6 separate regions of the Homo sapiens genome follow, and all the other regions are linked to region 6. Evidence: promoter capture Hi-C in 16 types of primary human blood cells and fetal thymus (Javierre and others, 2016). All regions are on one chromosome and are shown on one strand. The core of a region is centred on a gene start or on the middle of the fragment in contact, and the rest is flanking DNA. Distances in the headings are between cores, read along the strand shown.

Evidence for each region. The method cuts DNA at HindIII sites, captures the fragments that hold promoters and counts their contacts. A CHiCAGO score of 5 or more calls a contact.
Region 1: a contact is called between a fragment that was not itself captured here and the fragment with the promoter of LRP2BP in region 6, in 3 of 17 cell types (naive CD4 T cells, total CD4 T cells and naive B cells). The highest score is 6.9, in naive CD4 T cells.
Region 2: a contact is called between a fragment that was not itself captured here and the fragment with the promoter of LRP2BP in region 6, in 1 of 17 cell types (endothelial precursors). The highest score is 5.2, in endothelial precursors.
Region 3: a contact is called between a fragment that was not itself captured here and the fragment with the promoter of LRP2BP in region 6, in 1 of 17 cell types (activated CD4 T cells). The highest score is 5.1, in activated CD4 T cells.
Region 4: a contact is called between a fragment that was not itself captured here and the fragment with the promoter of LRP2BP in region 6, in 1 of 17 cell types (endothelial precursors). The highest score is 6.0, in endothelial precursors.
Region 5: a fragment that was not itself captured here is called in contact with the fragment with the promoter of LRP2BP in region 6 in 1 of 17 cell types (total B cells); the score reaches 6.1 in total B cells.

What each region holds. Positions count from the first base shown.
Region 1 is chr4:185,263,459-185,266,158 of GRCh38, forward strand. It overlaps SNX25 (sorting nexin 25), which reads left to right. Exons shown (of 19, transcript NM_001378034.2): 4 at 980-1,152. Among named protein-coding and RNA genes, the nearest start is that of SNX25, 55 kb to the left of the region's middle. RefSeq lists an enhancer at 2,420-2,700. The HindIII fragment of the contact is 3,072 bases long and covers 1-2,700 here.
Region 2 is chr4:185,160,339-185,163,038 of GRCh38, forward strand. CFAP97 (cilia and flagella associated protein 97) reads right to left here. Exons shown (of 5, transcript NM_020827.3): 5 at 1-2,587. The coding sequence ends at 2,460. Among named protein-coding and RNA genes, the nearest start is that of SLC25A4, 18 kb to the left of the region's middle. The HindIII fragment of the contact is 985 bases long and covers 795-1,779 here.
Region 3 is chr4:185,245,718-185,248,417 of GRCh38, forward strand. SNX25 (sorting nexin 25) reads left to right here. Exons shown (of 19, transcript NM_001378034.2): 2 at 1,577-1,661. Among named protein-coding and RNA genes, the nearest start is that of SNX25, 37 kb to the left of the region's middle. The HindIII fragment of the contact is 1,467 bases long and covers 620-2,086 here.
Region 4 is chr4:185,598,833-185,601,532 of GRCh38, forward strand. The region is part of intron 24 of SORBS2 (sorbin and SH3 domain containing 2); the gene reads right to left. Among named protein-coding and RNA genes, the nearest start is that of SORBS2-AS1, 12 kb to the left of the region's middle. The HindIII fragment of the contact is 2,502 bases long and covers 138-2,639 here.
Region 5 is chr4:185,219,716-185,222,415 of GRCh38, forward strand. All of the region lies in intron 1 of SNX25 (sorting nexin 25), which reads left to right. Among named protein-coding and RNA genes, the nearest start is that of SNX25, 11 kb to the left of the region's middle. The HindIII fragment of the contact is 1,659 bases long and covers 500-2,158 here.
Region 6 is chr4:185,394,477-185,397,176 of GRCh38, forward strand. LRP2BP (LRP2 binding protein) reads right to left here and starts at 1,448. Exons shown (of 9, transcript NM_001377440.1): 1 at 303-1,448. It overlaps ANKRD37 (ankyrin repeat domain 37), which reads left to right and starts at 2,365. Exons shown (of 5, transcript NM_181726.4): 1 at 2,365-2,474; 2 at 2,674-2,700. The coding sequence starts at 2,448. RefSeq lists silencers at 1,571-1,760, 1,981-2,350 and an enhancer at 1,881-1,950. The HindIII fragment of the contact is 1,591 bases long and covers 930-2,520 here.

The sequences.
Region 1 (2,700 bases), core at 42-2,541, 130 kb before region 6:
TCATGTTGCTGGCTTTACACATTAGGATAGAATTCCTTCAGGTTGTACAAGACAGAGGAAACCTTTCTTTTCTAGCGTTATACACTCTAGAAACTAGTTTCAGTCTCCAGTGCAAAATAAATTTCAGTTAACACCTGAGAGGCATGGGTCCTAAAGGTACTAATATGCACTAGTTTCATTTCCTGTGCAGTACCTAGTATGTTTCTCTCCCTCTGCTTCATGTTTTTTCTCATTGTTAGCTACTAGTTACTGTAAAAATCTCTTATACTTTGCCTCCTCATCTAGAACATATTAGAAAACGCAGCATCCCAGGCTTTCTTGAATCACTATCAAGATACTATGGGAAGGGAAGTATAGAAAGTTCTGTTTTCCAGTCCTCTTCACTCAGATCCTCCAAATTAATGTTCCTGGGATGGAGTCAGTACAGGGAAGTGCACAACCAAGGTTGTCAAGACTGGTTGAAAAATACTTTGGAGCCTCACAGAAGGCAATTTGCCATCAAATTAGATAACGTCGAGTTTATAGACCCTCTAGCTCACTAGAAATACCTGTAGACTTTTTATCCTATTATCTCCCAGTCAGAAAGCAGGCTGGCAACCCTGGTTTATGCTTTGTTAGGTTTTTTTGAAAAATGAAGCTGCAGGTCATATTTAAGAAAACATCTAGAAGACTTAAAAATTACTAAATAAATACTCGTACCTTTTTAGATTGTTGCTGTGATTTTGGAGTTATATAGACCCTTTGATGCTACTGAAGTTCGTTGTTATGATTTCATTTGAAATCCAAAAAAGGCCATGCATTTGCATTTATTCTAGCAAAAGTTTTCCAGATGAGTTGATGGTTGAGGAAATTTGATTATTTAGGAGATGGCAGTTACTATAACCAATGTGTTTCTCATTTGAAATATTTTTTACCTAATAGTACATAATTGAATTGTTTCTAGAAACTTCTTTCCTTCTTTTTCACTCTCTTTATTTAGACATGAAGAACAGCCAAGACCTTTTGTGTTGCACGCATGCTTGAGGAACTCAGATGATGAAGTAAGATTTCTACAAACGTGTTCTCGGGTTCTGGTGTTTTGTCTCCTCCCCTCAAAGGATGTGCAGTCTCTCAGCTTACGTATAATGCTTGCAGAAATTCTCACAACAAAAGGTAGACTTATACAGTTGATTTCACTAATTCAATAAGTGTGCAAACTAATGTGCTACATGCAGACCTTGTTTACTGTTGAACATATGGGATTTGAAGTATTTTCAAAATCTTGTTTATATGTCTCTAAAACTATTTGGCCATTCAGGATAAACTTAAATTTTTAATATGACATATCGCCAAATGCACAGTCCATTAAGTTGCATGTTTTGACATAGAAAACAAGTTTTTATGCTCTTCACAGGGAAGCATTCATTTGGGATAGCTTTTGAGTTATCTAGGCCAATAATATATACATTAATGAAAGTATGTGTATGTGTGTATAATATCTATATAATATCCATAGTATGTATGTTTATATATTACGTGTGTGTGTGTGTTCAAATTCTTTTTTTTTTCTTTAAATAGAGATGGGGGTCTTACTATGTTGCCCAGGCAAGTCTTGAACTCCTGGGTTCAAGTGATCCTCCCACTTAGGCCTCCCAAAGTGCTGAGATTACAGGTGTGAGCAACCATCCCTGACCACAGTCAAATTCTGATTAGCATATTTACTTAAAATATCTTTGCTATATGATTTGTTGATAATGCGTATACAGTAATGCATTGCTTAACAACAGGGATGTGTCCGAAGAAATGTGTCATTAGACAATGTCATTGTGCAAATATCATAGAGTGTACTTACACACCTACATGGGATAGCCCACTACACATGTGGGCAATATGGTGTAACCTATTGCTCCTAGACTATAAACCTTATACCATATTACTGTACTGAATACTGTAGGCAATAGTAACACAATGATATTTGTGTATCTAAGTATAGAAAAGGTACAGTAAAAATATGGTATAAAAGATAAACAACAGTACACCTATATAGGACACTTACCATGAATGGAGCTTGCAGGACTGGATGTTGCTCTGAGTGAGTGGGGAGTGACTGTGAAGGCCTAGGACATGACTGTGCACCACTGCAGACTTCATAAACAGTGTACGCTTAGGCTACACTACATTTATTTAAAATTTTATTTTCTTCAATAAATTAACCTTAGCTTACTATAACTTTTTTTACTTTATGAACTTTTAATTTTTTTAAACTTTTTGACTCTTTTGTAATAACATTTATCATCATTATCAAGTATGCACTGTACATAATTGTATGTGCTGTATTTTTATACTATTGACAGTGCAATAGGTTTCTTTACACTAGCTTGACCTCATTAAATGGTAGAAAATTTTCAGCTTCATTATAATCTTATGGGGGCCACTGTCATATAGTCAGTCTGTTGTTGACCAAAATGTCATTATGTGGCGCATGACTGTACATAATTTTGTGAACTTGGAATATGTAAAAAGGAACTGTACCACAATATAATGTGATTACTAGAAAAAAGTTAACTATATCCAGGGAAATGCTTAGTCAGGATAAGAGAAACTTTCCCTATCTCAGTCTCAGACAAATAGCATTGCATTTGAGATGCAGTGATTATCTCATTTACTATCTCAGGATAAGCCAGCTGTGCCCATCAGCTATTATAACCAACCACAGAGAAG
Region 2 (2,700 bases), core at 37-2,536, 230 kb before region 6:
TCTTCAAAGTACATATATTCAGTACAAGTCAAAAAAAAAATAAAATAAAATAGTGCCAGACCATCCTTTACTTTTTCATGTCCTTGAAATGAGAAGAGTAATGTACTTAAGTAATTCCTTCTTAAGAATGTCCCTTAAACTATAACAACTTCATAGCATCTTGACTTAGAATATACCACATTTTCCAAGTCCTATTTGTCTATTTATATTCATTATATATAAGTAACCATGACAACAGAATTGAAGTTCCGCTTAAAAGACTCTTGCCCTTTCCAACTTTTACTTTAAGTTGGATCCCTGTTATCAGTAATACTTAGATGAACCTCCCCTTTCAAAGTAGTAAAAACTAAAGCATTAAATTAGTACCTAAAATCAAAGTACAGTTGTTATTTATAAAACTATTGTGTTGTATCCTGACATGTGGCAACAAAGATAATATAAAATGTACTCAGAGACTAATGCCATTATGAACAGAAAAGACTATATATAAATATATAATCTTTATATATATATAAAAATCTTTTTTAAAAGATTTTTAAAATAAAATTTATAAAAAAGATTTTTTATATATATAAAAAGATTATATATATAAAACATATATATATATTTTTTTCTGGAACAACTTAAAAATCAATTTTAAAAAAACTGATTAATTCACTATTGGACAGATGTTCAAATGCTAAATTTAAAATTCAGCATTATCTTCTCTCTCTTGAAATATAGGTTATATAAACAGTAAAAGTACAGTAAGTTAAAAAACAAAAGAAAATAAAGCCTTGGTTTAGTATAGCTCAAGCTTATATACACAGCAGGTATAGTAACTTGTTCACCAGAACAGAGCATCGAATAACATTGAATGAAAATTATGGCCCCCAAAAGCAGAACCTCAAAGCCAGGTTGTGGCCAGGTGAATTATTTAACCTCACTGTGCCCATGTTCACAGGCCTGATCCTTAACAAAATCTATGAATACAAACTAAATCCAAGACATGTTGAATTGATGTTTTGTAAAATGCAGTAACACCTTACTGTTAAAGGTGCTAAGGAAAAAAGCATTCAGCATACATGCTACAGAGCCTGAGCACTGAAAAATGAAAATCTTATTGTGGCTACAGATCAAAAATTCATACTGAAAAAGATATTTGTCATTTAACATGGAACCTTTCCAATACATTTTAAGGGCATACTGAAAAGGCTAGTAGTGAAAAACGGCGGTAACAATGAGATAACATACTTTGTTATATAAAAGCCTAAGTTTCATAGAAAAAAAATTCTAATTTGAAAAGTCAACAACATTAAACCCTATCTGCCATTACCAATTCCATCAAGATTACTAGGTCTTTAAATGTGGGACTGGTAAAAATAATACTTCCAGGGTTCAATCAAATAAATCAAAGTAAACCAAAACAAGAAAATTAGCTAATACTTAAAGCAGCAGCCTCAACAAATGTGTGATTTATTTCCCTTTTTGTTCAAATTTTAGTTTTTTCAGGCCTTATAAATACTTGCTGGAATTTCTAAAGCATTTCTTTCTTACGCTAAGTCTTCTCTAATAACATAATAAATACTGAATTACCTAAAACACTGTCCGACACACCTCAGGATCTGCTTCTCGGCTCTTCATGCTGATAGTGCCATTTTACTGATTCAACAAATACTTGGTTTGCAACTGATGTGGTCCTTAAACTATTCACGAGTTAGAAGACTAGCTCTAAAACCTACCTCATTTCTAAGAGTCATAAATAGGACTTTACCTGAATGCATGAAAACACAAAAGGGAAGCTTCTAAGTTGAACTTTCTAATATTCATATTTGAAATGGTTTGGAATGATTGATCAAACTTTTAAGATCTAACTCAGTGCACTTATACAACAACTAGATACCTCTGGTGAATTACAAGAATTGCTCCAATAGAAGCGTCTCTCAATCTGCTCATCAAATCTAGATCAGCTCTACCAGTGAAAACAAATTTCAAGATTTGTTTCATAATAAGTGTTAAATCTCATACAATCGAGCTATGTCATGCCACATAAGTTCTAAAGCAAATGAAAAACAAAGCCAGCCAAATTTAGGAGCTGAGCTCATGGTATAACACTTATAAAGAAATGAAAATAACACAAATTGAAAACTATAGTGACCATCTTGGGTACGACATGCAATGATACTATCACTACTATTTTGACAGCATGACAACTGAATAATTAGAAGATACACATGCATACCACTATTTCTCTATTAAGAACACATACATCTCATATAAATACATCCTCAGGAAACACTTTTTACATTAAATCGTTTTTTGACAATAATTTTGCACTGAATAACAATACATTACAACTCACTGTTGTACACCTTCAATTGCTAAAACGGTATTCTAGATGTTTACACAGAGAATTATAGGAATATGCACGAGCACTTCAAGAAAAGTTGTGTGAACAATGTTTAAAGTAAAAAAGTGTTTTATAACCAAGCTGTACGGACATTAGGGGGTTTAGGTCTTCTTCGAGGGTGGCCACTGGAGGGGTCAACCGCTGATCGCTCACTCCTACAACTGAGACCACTCGTAGCACTGGATGTCCTGGAAGCTCCTGAAAATATAAAAAGAAGAAATATCTGAGAAACTTCTCCTCACTTGAAGTCCAGACTAGTTTTTCTTCCACATTCTATGTGTGTCTAATAGTCTAATGCTATGATTCTCGAC
Region 3 (2,700 bases), core at 103-2,602, 150 kb before region 6:
CCGCCTAGAGGAAACCACTTTTAAAAGTGTCTGTGCTTGCAAACATTTTCCCATCATAGAAAACTTTCCATGAAGGTATATATGTATCCCTAAAGCATTCTTTTTAATGGTATACCAATAATTTATTTAACTCTTTGACTATTGACGTATATATAAAAACTTGCGTTACTTCCAATTTTTTTTGCCCCTATAATTAATATAGCAGTAAAATTCCTTATACATGTACTTTTTTGGATTTCCATTGGGCAGAGTCCTAGGAGTGGCATTGCAGAATAGAAAGTCCTTTAGGCCGGGTGCGGTGGCTCACGCCTGTAATCCCAGCACTTTGGGAGGCCGAGGCAGGTGATCACATGAGGTCAGGAGTTCGAGACCAGCCTGGCCAACATGGGAAAAACCCATCTCTACTAGAAATAAAAAATTAGCTGGGTGTGGTGTCGTGGGCCTGAAGTCCCAGCTACTCTGGAGGCTGAGGCAGGAGAATCACTTGAACCTGGGAGGCGGAGGTTGCAGTGAGCTGAGTGGTTGCAGTGAGCACCACAGCACTCCAGCCTGGGCAACATGTGAGACTCAAAAAAGTCCTTTAAAATTTTGATATATGTGGCTCAGTTGCCTTCTTAAAAGCTTGTAGAAATAGATATTTCCCCCAACAATATATGAAAACAACCATTTCCCTGTGTCCTGGTGAACATTAGATAGGTATGTCCTTTCTGCTGCTTTGGCAGTCTGATGGTATCTCATTGCTCTAATTTGCATTCCTCTAATAAAAAAGGGGATTGCATTTTTTTGTCATACATTTATTGGTCATTTGTTTATCTTTTATGATTTCCCTTTCAACTTCTTTGGTTTTCTTTTGAGTTATTTTCTTATTTTTGGAGTCTCTGTATATTTAATGATAGTTCTTTGTTACATTGTTACAGATACTGTCTCCTAGTCTATCATTTACATTTCGATTGCATCATCTTTTGTGAAACAAGAATTTTGTATTTTAGGTAGTCAGATTTGTCATTTTTTCCCCCTTCATACCATTTGGATTTTGTGTTTTATTTTAGAGAAGCCTTTTCCATTCCAAGATTATAAAAAGCTGCTCCCTTATTTCTTCTTAATTCTTTTTTAGCTTAAAACATGTTTAGCTGTTTAATCTTTTTGGAGTTATTTATATACAGAATGTAAGACCGTAACCTTTTATTCCCATGTGAATATCAAATTATTCCAACATCATTTGCTGAGTAGTGTGTGGTTTTTATCATTAATTTCAAATTCTTCTTAAGAAAATTATGTTCTTAATTTGCACATATATAGCTACATCGGTTTGTTTACTCCCTACCATTGTGTTGATTTATTTATTCCTATACAGTCATTATACTGTTTTGATATCTGGTAGGGAAAATCCTTCCTTAATTTTTTTTCCAAAAAATTTTAACCTTAAGCATTTATTTACTTTTGTGGAAAAACTTCTGTTATTCGTTAAGCCTTATCTTAATGCTTGTTTAGATGGCATTTCATACCTTTGATTTTTTTTTTTTATGTGATTTATTCATTCAGTAATCTGCTTTGTATTTTTTTCCTTTCATTTCAGAGTCCTGTGTATGGAAACTCACATGAGTCAGCTCAGTCTAGAAGGGTAGTAATTTCTCATAATATGGATAAAGCTCTGAAAGAAGGTAAGGATTAAATGAGAGTATATAATTACCATGTAAAGCAATTCATTATGTTCTAAGAGGAAAATAATAATCTCCAGCAAATTTATTCTTCTTGTCTGCATGTAGTGTTAGGAATTTTTTCTTCATGAGTTTGTATTTGATGACTAAATACATCCATGTTTTGTTTGCATGTAAGGGATTTACACGTTTGTTGAGTAGGAATTTCCAGATCATGTGAAACTAGCCAGCCATGTAGAGCTAGTTCCATCATATGAAGCACAGATCTGTTCTCTCTTTTCTAAAATGGGTTTTAGGAATTTTTTTTTTCTTCTAACTATAACCTAGAGAAGCTATGTTGGGATAAATAGACTCAGGCTCACTCATAGATAAACCAGTTAAACCCAACTAAGTGATAGTAGTCTTTCAGAGGAGTGAGTTTACAATGAAGCTTGTCTTGAAGAAGGCAGAAGCAGGGTGGTGGAAGGTAAAATATGGCTATGTCTGGAAGTGGGAATAAATAAGTGTACTTTTAAATATTAAAATTTTAAAAAATATATTTTGAACATCAAATTAAGGTTTAAGAAAGATTTTAAATATCAAATTTCTAAAAACATTGACAGTTTCAGTTAATTTTCAGAAAACAAGTCATGAGTTTATCAGGTGAATATATGATGTTAGACGTGAAGTTAAGAGAGCTGAACAAGTGATATGTACATATATGTGTTTTACTCATCATAGTTCACAAAAATCACCATATCAAAATCTGAAAATGAGAGTACTGTATCAGTACAGAAACAGTTTGAAATTGTGTGGATTCACAGAATTTTAGACCTTTGGGGACATAATTAAATTTTAAAAAATACTTCTATTAGTAGTTAAGGTACAACTTATAAAACTTACTGGATTTAAAATTTGGCAATTATTCATAATCTTTAAAGTATGACTTATAAAACTTACTGGATTTAAAATTTGGCAATTATTCATAATCTCATAATCATGATTTTTAGAGTACAGGATTGGCTGGATGTGGTGGCTCATGCCTGTAATCCTAGCATTTTGG
Region 4 (2,700 bases), core at 139-2,638, 200 kb after region 6:
ACACGTGTAATCTGACATACAAATACATAATGTAAAAATCAGGCAAAAAATAAAAAAAAAACCTTAAGGGGAACACAAGCATACCATCTCGTGGACCCACAGGAGGGTTATAGATGGGTCCTTTTCACTGCAAAAGAAGCTTATGTTTTGCTTTGGCTCTGGAAGGCCATTCGGGGGAGTCTAAGAGTCTCTACAAATTGGCATTTCTGTCTCTATGGCAACACAAAGCTCTGCCTCAGCAACAAAATGAGGTCTTCCTATGCAATGCAAAAAGCACAAAGTGGCATGAATGCAGAATAATATCGACTTTTCTTTAGAAATAAAAAATGAAGACTTCTGTGAAATCAAGCCCTTGAGAACTTCTTGAAATGCAGAAGCACGGCCATGCGATAGGCCAGTCAAGGTTGAATCCGGGTCCATTAAAACAGAAATGAGGAAAGGAATCCTGACTTATGTCCAGATGAAAATTTCCAAACTCCTTGGCTGCATTCCTTAGAATTGATAGTAAGTACCATTTAGAGTCCATGTATTTTAAAGTACTGTAGATACTATGGAACGAAGTAGCTAAGGGAAAGTAATTTGACCTTTAAGTTCAATCAGAGCTGGCAAGAAATAGGAAGTGGATAGAATCCAGACAGCAGTATGGGGACAAAAGGCAGACTGAGAGGATGTAGTGCACATCACCAGAGAAACAGAAGATGTTAGACAAGAATCATGGATTTAAAAAAAATCCAAATTGAATGACACAGAAGCAAACATGACCGGAAGTGTGTGAGTTCGGCACTGTAGATGCTTGGCAACAGTTTTTTCTTTGCAGGAGAAACGGTGACTAGAAAGCAGTGATTTAGTGTAGAACCATGAGACAGATGTAGACCACAAAACACACGACACTCTTATTTGTAGAGTAGAGAATCTGACCATGTCTTTGTGGAGTTTGGAAACCTCACACACACCTAAAAGGGAAGCACATCACCAGGTGGTCGCTTCATCTTCAGGGTGTCTCCAGCCTCACTTTAAGGCCAGTTCACAGCAAAGACAACTAAGGAAGAGCCAGCCCTGGGGGCGGGGGAGGTGGCCAGGATGCCTGCCACAAAGTGGGGGCATGCTGACCCTACCCTGTGGGAACCGCTGAGCCCTCTGACAGGTGAGCCGCAGAATCTCCTAGACATCACTGGGCTACGAGGAGGCTTACCCAGGACACATATCTCGCTTTTTACGTCAGCCTGGAAAATGTACAAGAAGTTAGTTAGCTCTCATCTTCGTCACACAGACTTCAGGAGGAGCTTTCCTGGCTGGCTTTTTCCATGCACACACAGCATGCCAAACTCCTGCACAACAGCAGGGCAGGGAGGGTCCACAGCTTCTCCAGCTGCTTATACAGTTTCCACACCACAGGCACCAGCTGCCATCTTAACATGGCACCCACAGGCACAGCAGAAAAAGGTTCACAGAGGAAAGCTGGCATAGGGAAGAGGCCAAGAACATATAAGAAATGTTATATCTTTTTTTGTCTTTTATTTTTTTGAGACGGAGTCTGGCTCTGTCGCCCAGGCTGGAGTGCAATGGCACAGTCTCGGCTCACTGCAACCTCCATCTCCCGGGTTCGAGCGATTCTCTTGTCTCAGCCTCCCGAGTAGCTGGGATCACAGGCACCCGCCACCAGGCCCAGCTAATTTTTGTATTTTTAGTAGAGACAGGATTTCACCATGTTGGTCAGGCTGGTCTTGAACTCCTGACCTCAAGTGATCTGCCTGCCTCGGGCTCCCAAAGTGCTGGGATTACAGGTGTCAGCCACTGCGCCCGGCCAAGAAATGTTATGTCTTTCATAGAATGCTTAGCAATTGGGTTCAAGATGCTCTCAAACCTGCCCTGCTTTTTCATCTTATTGAAGGGATGCAAGGTGAGATAGAGGAGAATTTGGCTTAATGCCTGTCAAATTTCATGGACTGTATCAGACATTTGTTGGAGGCAAAATTTTCTAACACATAAGAAGAAAATAAGGCCTTTTTGGGGGGAAACATGGTGAAATTTGATGAACTACTGAAGTGCCAACCTGTGGGCTGGACTGTTTTGGTGTTTTTTTTTTATTTTCAGAGTAAGATCTTTCATATGACAGTGAGTAAGCTGACCTTCTTTTGTGTAGGTTTTATTTTCCTTCCAATAGCGGACAGGATCTGGCAGTGTACTGCCTGGTATTTGATCTGGCTTAAGAGAACTTCCGGAGGAATAAAACACGCTTAAATAAAAGCATGTGGTTTTCTCAACTCTCATTTAGAAAAGTTTTCCTAATTCTCAGTAATGATTGACCTCAAATCCCCAGCCTCTCGGGATGAAATGTGTTTGGCACCGTTGCTTAAGTGTCGTGGCAGACGATGCTTGATGCTCTCCACATCCATTCTCTTCTTGGTCCTCAGTAATGGGGCCAGGCTGTTGGGTAGGCACATGGCCATTCTGGATAAAGACCACATTTCCTGACTTGTAGCTGGATGTACTCATGTCATAAGCTGAGACCGAGGGGATATATGCAATTCTGGGACTTGGCCTTCAAGGGAGAAGGTGTAATCTCCCATCTTTTCTCCTTCCTGCTGGTTCGTGTGAGAAGGGAACTACTCGAGCTGCCACCTGGGACCCATAGCGGAAGCTTCTCTCTGAGGATGGCGATGAGCCCACATCAGATGGAAACTCCTGGGTTCTCTGATG
Region 5 (2,700 bases), core at 79-2,578, 170 kb before region 6:
TTTCTCTAGTCCCCAACCTTGAGCTGCTACACATAAGCCACCTCCCACAAGGCCTCTTCCTCTTATGTAAATCAACTCATAAAAATATATACCCGAGGGCTGCTTGCAGGCTGCCAATTTGTTATACATGAAATTAACATCTTAACTGTTCCAGATATTTCCATGTGTTTTTCCTGAAGCAGAGTTGTTAATCTTTTTTTTTTTTTTCTGATTTTTTTCCATTTCACTGAACCTTTCTTTTTTTCTGAAACTGCAACCGCTAGATAGCTCAGAAAGTTGGATGTTTCCCAGATTTGCATTTGGGTCATTCTTGAGGTCTCATTCTTCATTCTGTTACTTTAGGGCAGTCTCAACTTTGGCCTCCTACAATAATCATCCCTGTCTATATTGAGGACTTAAGAGATTTATTCCTGAGGTTCAGATCTAGTTTTGGGCCTCAGACTTATTTATTCAACTGCTTAACTTGACATTTCCACCTGGCAGTCCCAGTGGTACCCGAAGCTTGAGTCTGTGACATCTTATGACCAGTGTCTGTCTCTGTTCCTCTTGTTTCTTTTTTTTTCTTTAAATTTTATTAGTATTATACTTTAAGTTTTAGGGTACTTGTGCACAATGTGCAGGTTTGTTACATATGTATACATGTGCCATGTTGGTGTGCTGCACCCATTAACTCGTCATTTAGCATTAGGTATATCTCCTAATGCTTGTTCCTCTTGTTTCTGTGTCAGTGAATAGCACCTCTGAAAGTCAGGTCCCACAACTGAGTCCCTTTTTTTTTTTTTTTTGAGATGGAGTCTCGCTCTGTCACCCAGGCTGGGGTGCAGTGTGCGATCGCGGCTTACTACAACCTCTGCCTGCCAGGTTCAAGCAATTCTCCTGCCTCAGCCTCCCAAGTAGCTGGGATAAGGGTGCCCACCACCACGCCTGGCTAAATTTTTGTATTTTTAGTAGAGACGGGGTTTCACCATGTTAGCCAGGATGGTCTCGATCTCCTGACCTTGTGATCCGCCCACCTCGGCCTCCCAAAGTGCTGGGATTACAGGCGTGAGCCACTGCGCCCGGCCTAACTGAGTCCTTCTTGACATCTTCTCCTTATACCCCATAGGCACTCCATCAAGTCCTGTCCTTTTACCTCTTTTGTTAATTTTATTTATTTATTTATTTTTGAGACAGGGTGTCACTCTGTTGCCTAGGCTGAAGTGCAGTGGCACAATCATGGCTCACCGCAGCATCAGCCTCCTGGGCTCTTGTGATCCTCCATGCCTCACTCCCCCGCCAATGGCTGGGACTACAGGTGGGTGCCACCACACCCAGCTAATTTTTTTTTTTTTTTCTGAGACAGGATCTGGCTCTGTTGCCCGGGCTGGAGTGCAGTGGCATGATCTTGGCTCACCGCAACCTCCACTTCCTGGGCTCAAGCCTTCCTCCCACTTCAGCCTCCCAAGTAGCTGGGTCTAAGGATGCATGCCACCGCACTCAACTAATTTTTGTATTTTTTGTAGAGACAGGGTTTCACCATGTTGCCCAGCCTGGTCTTGAACTCCTGAGCTCAAGCCATTAATCTGCTTTGGCCTCCCAAAGTGCTGGAATTACAGGTGTGAGCCACTGTGCCTGACCCGGGCTAATTAAAAAAGTTTTTTCTAGAGATGGAGTCTCTCTGTGTTGCCCACGCAGGTCTCAAACTCCTGGACTCAAGCCATCCTCCCACCGTGGCCTCCCAGAATGTTGGATTACAGGGGTGCCTGCCCTTATTTCTTGAGTATCTTGCATTCATCTACTTCTTTCAGTCTTTCCTGCTTGGTCTTAGCTACCGTCATGTCCCACCTAGATGACTGTAACAACCTTTCAATTGGTCTCTGCCTCCATGTTGGCTCCCTCTTCCATTGATTCTTTTGAAAATGCAAGCCTAATCAAATTCCTCTTCAGCAGCATGTTTGTTTAAAATCTTTCAGTAACTTCCTGCTCTTCCTAGCTCTCTAGCCTAATCTCCAGTCATAATTACCCTCACTCCTCATGCTCCACCCTCAGTCCTCATAGTGCCGGGCTTTTTCTGTCTGTAGGGACTTTATATATTGTTCTCCTGCCTTGAGCATGCTGCTGCCCCCTTTATCTAGTTAACTTCTCTTTCTTTATACCACAGTCATCAGTTTTGCAGGGAAGCTTTTCCTATCTTTCAACTTACATATTCTTATAGCACCATATACTTCTCCTTCACTGTAGATATATAGCACCATATACCCCTCCTTCACGGTAGGAATATAGCGCCATATACCCCTCCTTCATGGTAGATATATAGCACCATATATCCCTCGTTCACTGTAGGTATACAGCACCATATACCCCTCCTTCATGGTAGGTATATAGCGCCATATACCCCTCCTTCACGGTAGATATATAGCAGATATATAGCACCATATACCCCCCATTCACTGTAGGTATACAGCACCATATACCCCTCCTTCATGGTAGGTATTCAGCTCCATATAACCCTCCTTCATGGCAGGTATTCAGAGCCATATACCCCTCCTTCGCGGTAGGTATACAGCACCATATACCCCTCCTTCGCGGTAGGTATACAGCACCATATACTCCTCGTTCACTGTAGGTATACAGCACCATATAACCCTCCTTCATGGCAGGTATTCAGTGCCATATACCCCTCCCTCACGGTAGGTATACAGCGCCCTATACCCCTCCCTC
Region 6 (2,700 bases), core at 198-2,697:
TGCAGATAATACCTATGAGCGTTAGTCTTGAGGCACAAGTGCTCAATTAATGTCAATTTGTAATATAATAAACTGGAATAGACGTTAGTGGTTAATACTTTCTCATTTGTCGGCCTTTCTCTATTTCACATCACAGCTGCATGTGTATCACACACTGCCCCCAGACTGAACTACATATAGTGCTCTCAATACTGGAAGATATTTTACACTTCTTAGAAATACTCTTCCCTTCCTGGACTCCTTAGCAAACTCTTACTACTCAAGATTCAGCCCACACATCTCTCATCTATTCGGTCACTTACTCATCATCCAACGTTTTTTTTAACACTCGCTGTAAATGGCATCCTCGTTCTGGAAACGCATCTACCAGCAATTAAAACATGTAGAATTAGCACTGCTTAGGAGAACGCCTATAAAATATGCATCTTAGATCATCTTCCGTTTTAGAAAATTGATCCCACCTGCTACACGCCTGGTGAAACTCCAGTTACTTGCCAGTAAGATATTGTCCCCCAAATGTACTTATCCTGTTTTTGTGCATTATAAGCTTTGTTCAGTTTATAGTTTCTAGGCCCATTACTAAAGTCAAGTCAGATATCCAGCTGAGATACAACTTTTTTTTCTGAAAACAATGTGAGCAATGGACAGGTACGCTGTGATTAAAGGGAGAAAAGCTGTAACGACTCCCCAAATTTCCTTTCCTTATGAAATTTACGTATGTAACAGGAAGTTAAAAAATAACTACCACTTAATGCATACTGAACAGAATCTTGTTTCAAAGAAAAGATATGAAATATGGAGGCACTTTCACCACACAAATATCCCACTACATATGCTAACTGCAGTATTTATGTTCAAAACTGTAAGAACGTGTCTGATACCCTTTATTAGTTAGGAATTCCTGAAAATGAACTTCTGTGCAAACCTGAAGCTTCAACACGTGTTTTAAAAAGCAGTGCTTATTGAATTGATAAACAAAAGCGAAACTGGCAATATCAACGTGTGCTCACCTCACAAATCTGACAACAGTATCTCTACACTGCCGTTCTTTAAACATCATTAAAAGATATTGTGAATAGTTTAAATATTAAAAATGTGGAATATAAGAACGATTCTATATATTTGAACACACATTTATATTCAAATATTCATATGAATAAAAATGCTTAAAACTACCCCTTGGGTAACTAAGTATAACAACATAAACTTGCGATTGCAAATTTTATGGCTCTTACTACAAAACAAAAAGTAGAATGAAAAGACCACTTATCTTTAGAGGACAAGCATGAACTTGTTTTCTAACAGCATAACAATAAACGTATTTATTTCTCCGAGCTTTCAAAGGCATCAACAGAAGGGAATCACTAAAAATGTAGGGGAAAAGAAACACTCGGCTGGAGCTTTGGTTTCTAAGCAGATCCTTCTGGAAAGACGCTTAGGGAGAGTCTAGGGAGCAGCTCTGACGTCAGTAGCTGCCATCGGAAGTCAGGTCATGTTCTACAAAAAGCAGTGACGCACGCCCGACAGCACCCGCGGGGCCGGACAGCGGCTTCACCAGCCCCGCGGGTCCGAATCGCACGCGGCCGGGTCCGCTCTCCCGGGAGGAGAGCCCGGCGTGGACCAGCGTGACGACCCCAGCGTGCTGCGGCCTCTCCCCGAGGGCCCCTCCACAAGGGTCCCTGCGCGGGCCGGGCTCGGCCGTTGCCACTCGGGACAGCCATCCCCTCGAGTTCGCGCTCGCCGTCCCCGCCTTCACCTCCCGGGTTGGGAGGCGGGCGACTGCGCGCGAGGTAAAGGAACTTGCGTTCCCCGGCGCCGAGGCGGCAGCAGCGCAGTGCACAGCGGCTTCTGAAGGCGGCGTCGACGGGGAGCTGCGCGTGGCTCCCAGTTTCCTGGTTACGTGCGCGCCGGCAGAGCCAAAACCTGCAGCCGAAACTCCCGCTTCTCCGTAAGGATTAAAGGGCGGGCGCACTACCGGGAGACGTGTCAAACTCAGCGCGCCTCATGGCGGCCGCGGAGCCCCACCCGCTCCTACTCCAGTCCTCTCACGCCCACTGACTTACCCTGCGCACGCGCGCTGAGGCTCCGTGGGGCCGCCGCGGGCCCCGCCCCGAGGTGGGAGGGCCTGACGCATCCACAGCTGGCCAATCGGCGGATGGCCTCGCGCGCCCGCCCCCTCCCCCTGCCCCCGGCGCCGGGCTCCACGTGCCAGTGTTTGTGTACGTGCGGCCGTGGCGGGGCTGGACAGGGTCCGGGTCGTTGAGGATTAGGCTGCTCGGGCGTAACCGGAGCTGGGGCGCGGCTGCCAAGGGCCGGCCCGGAAGTCCCAGCGGTCTTTAAATTCTCCCGTGCTAGGGCCAGCCTGCGCATTCTTACCTGTCGGGGTGCGGCGAGTGTCTCACCTCTCTGCACTTCCAAGGACTCTTGTCATCTGCCTTAGGCGGGAAATGCTGTTGCTGGATTGCAACCCCGAGGTGAGATTCGGGCTCACAGAGCCCGAGCTTTTGTCCTGCAGGCTCAAGCTTCTAGATTCGTCTTCTCGTTAATGCGGGGACGGACCACTGGGCGCTGCCTGGTCAGAGCTGGTTGTGAAGGGCGGGGAGGTTTCCAGCCCGGAGGGGCGCGGGACTGGACAAAGGTGGGAAGGGTGCTGGATCTGTTCTCTTCCTGCAGGTGGATGGTCTGAAGCATTTGCTGGAG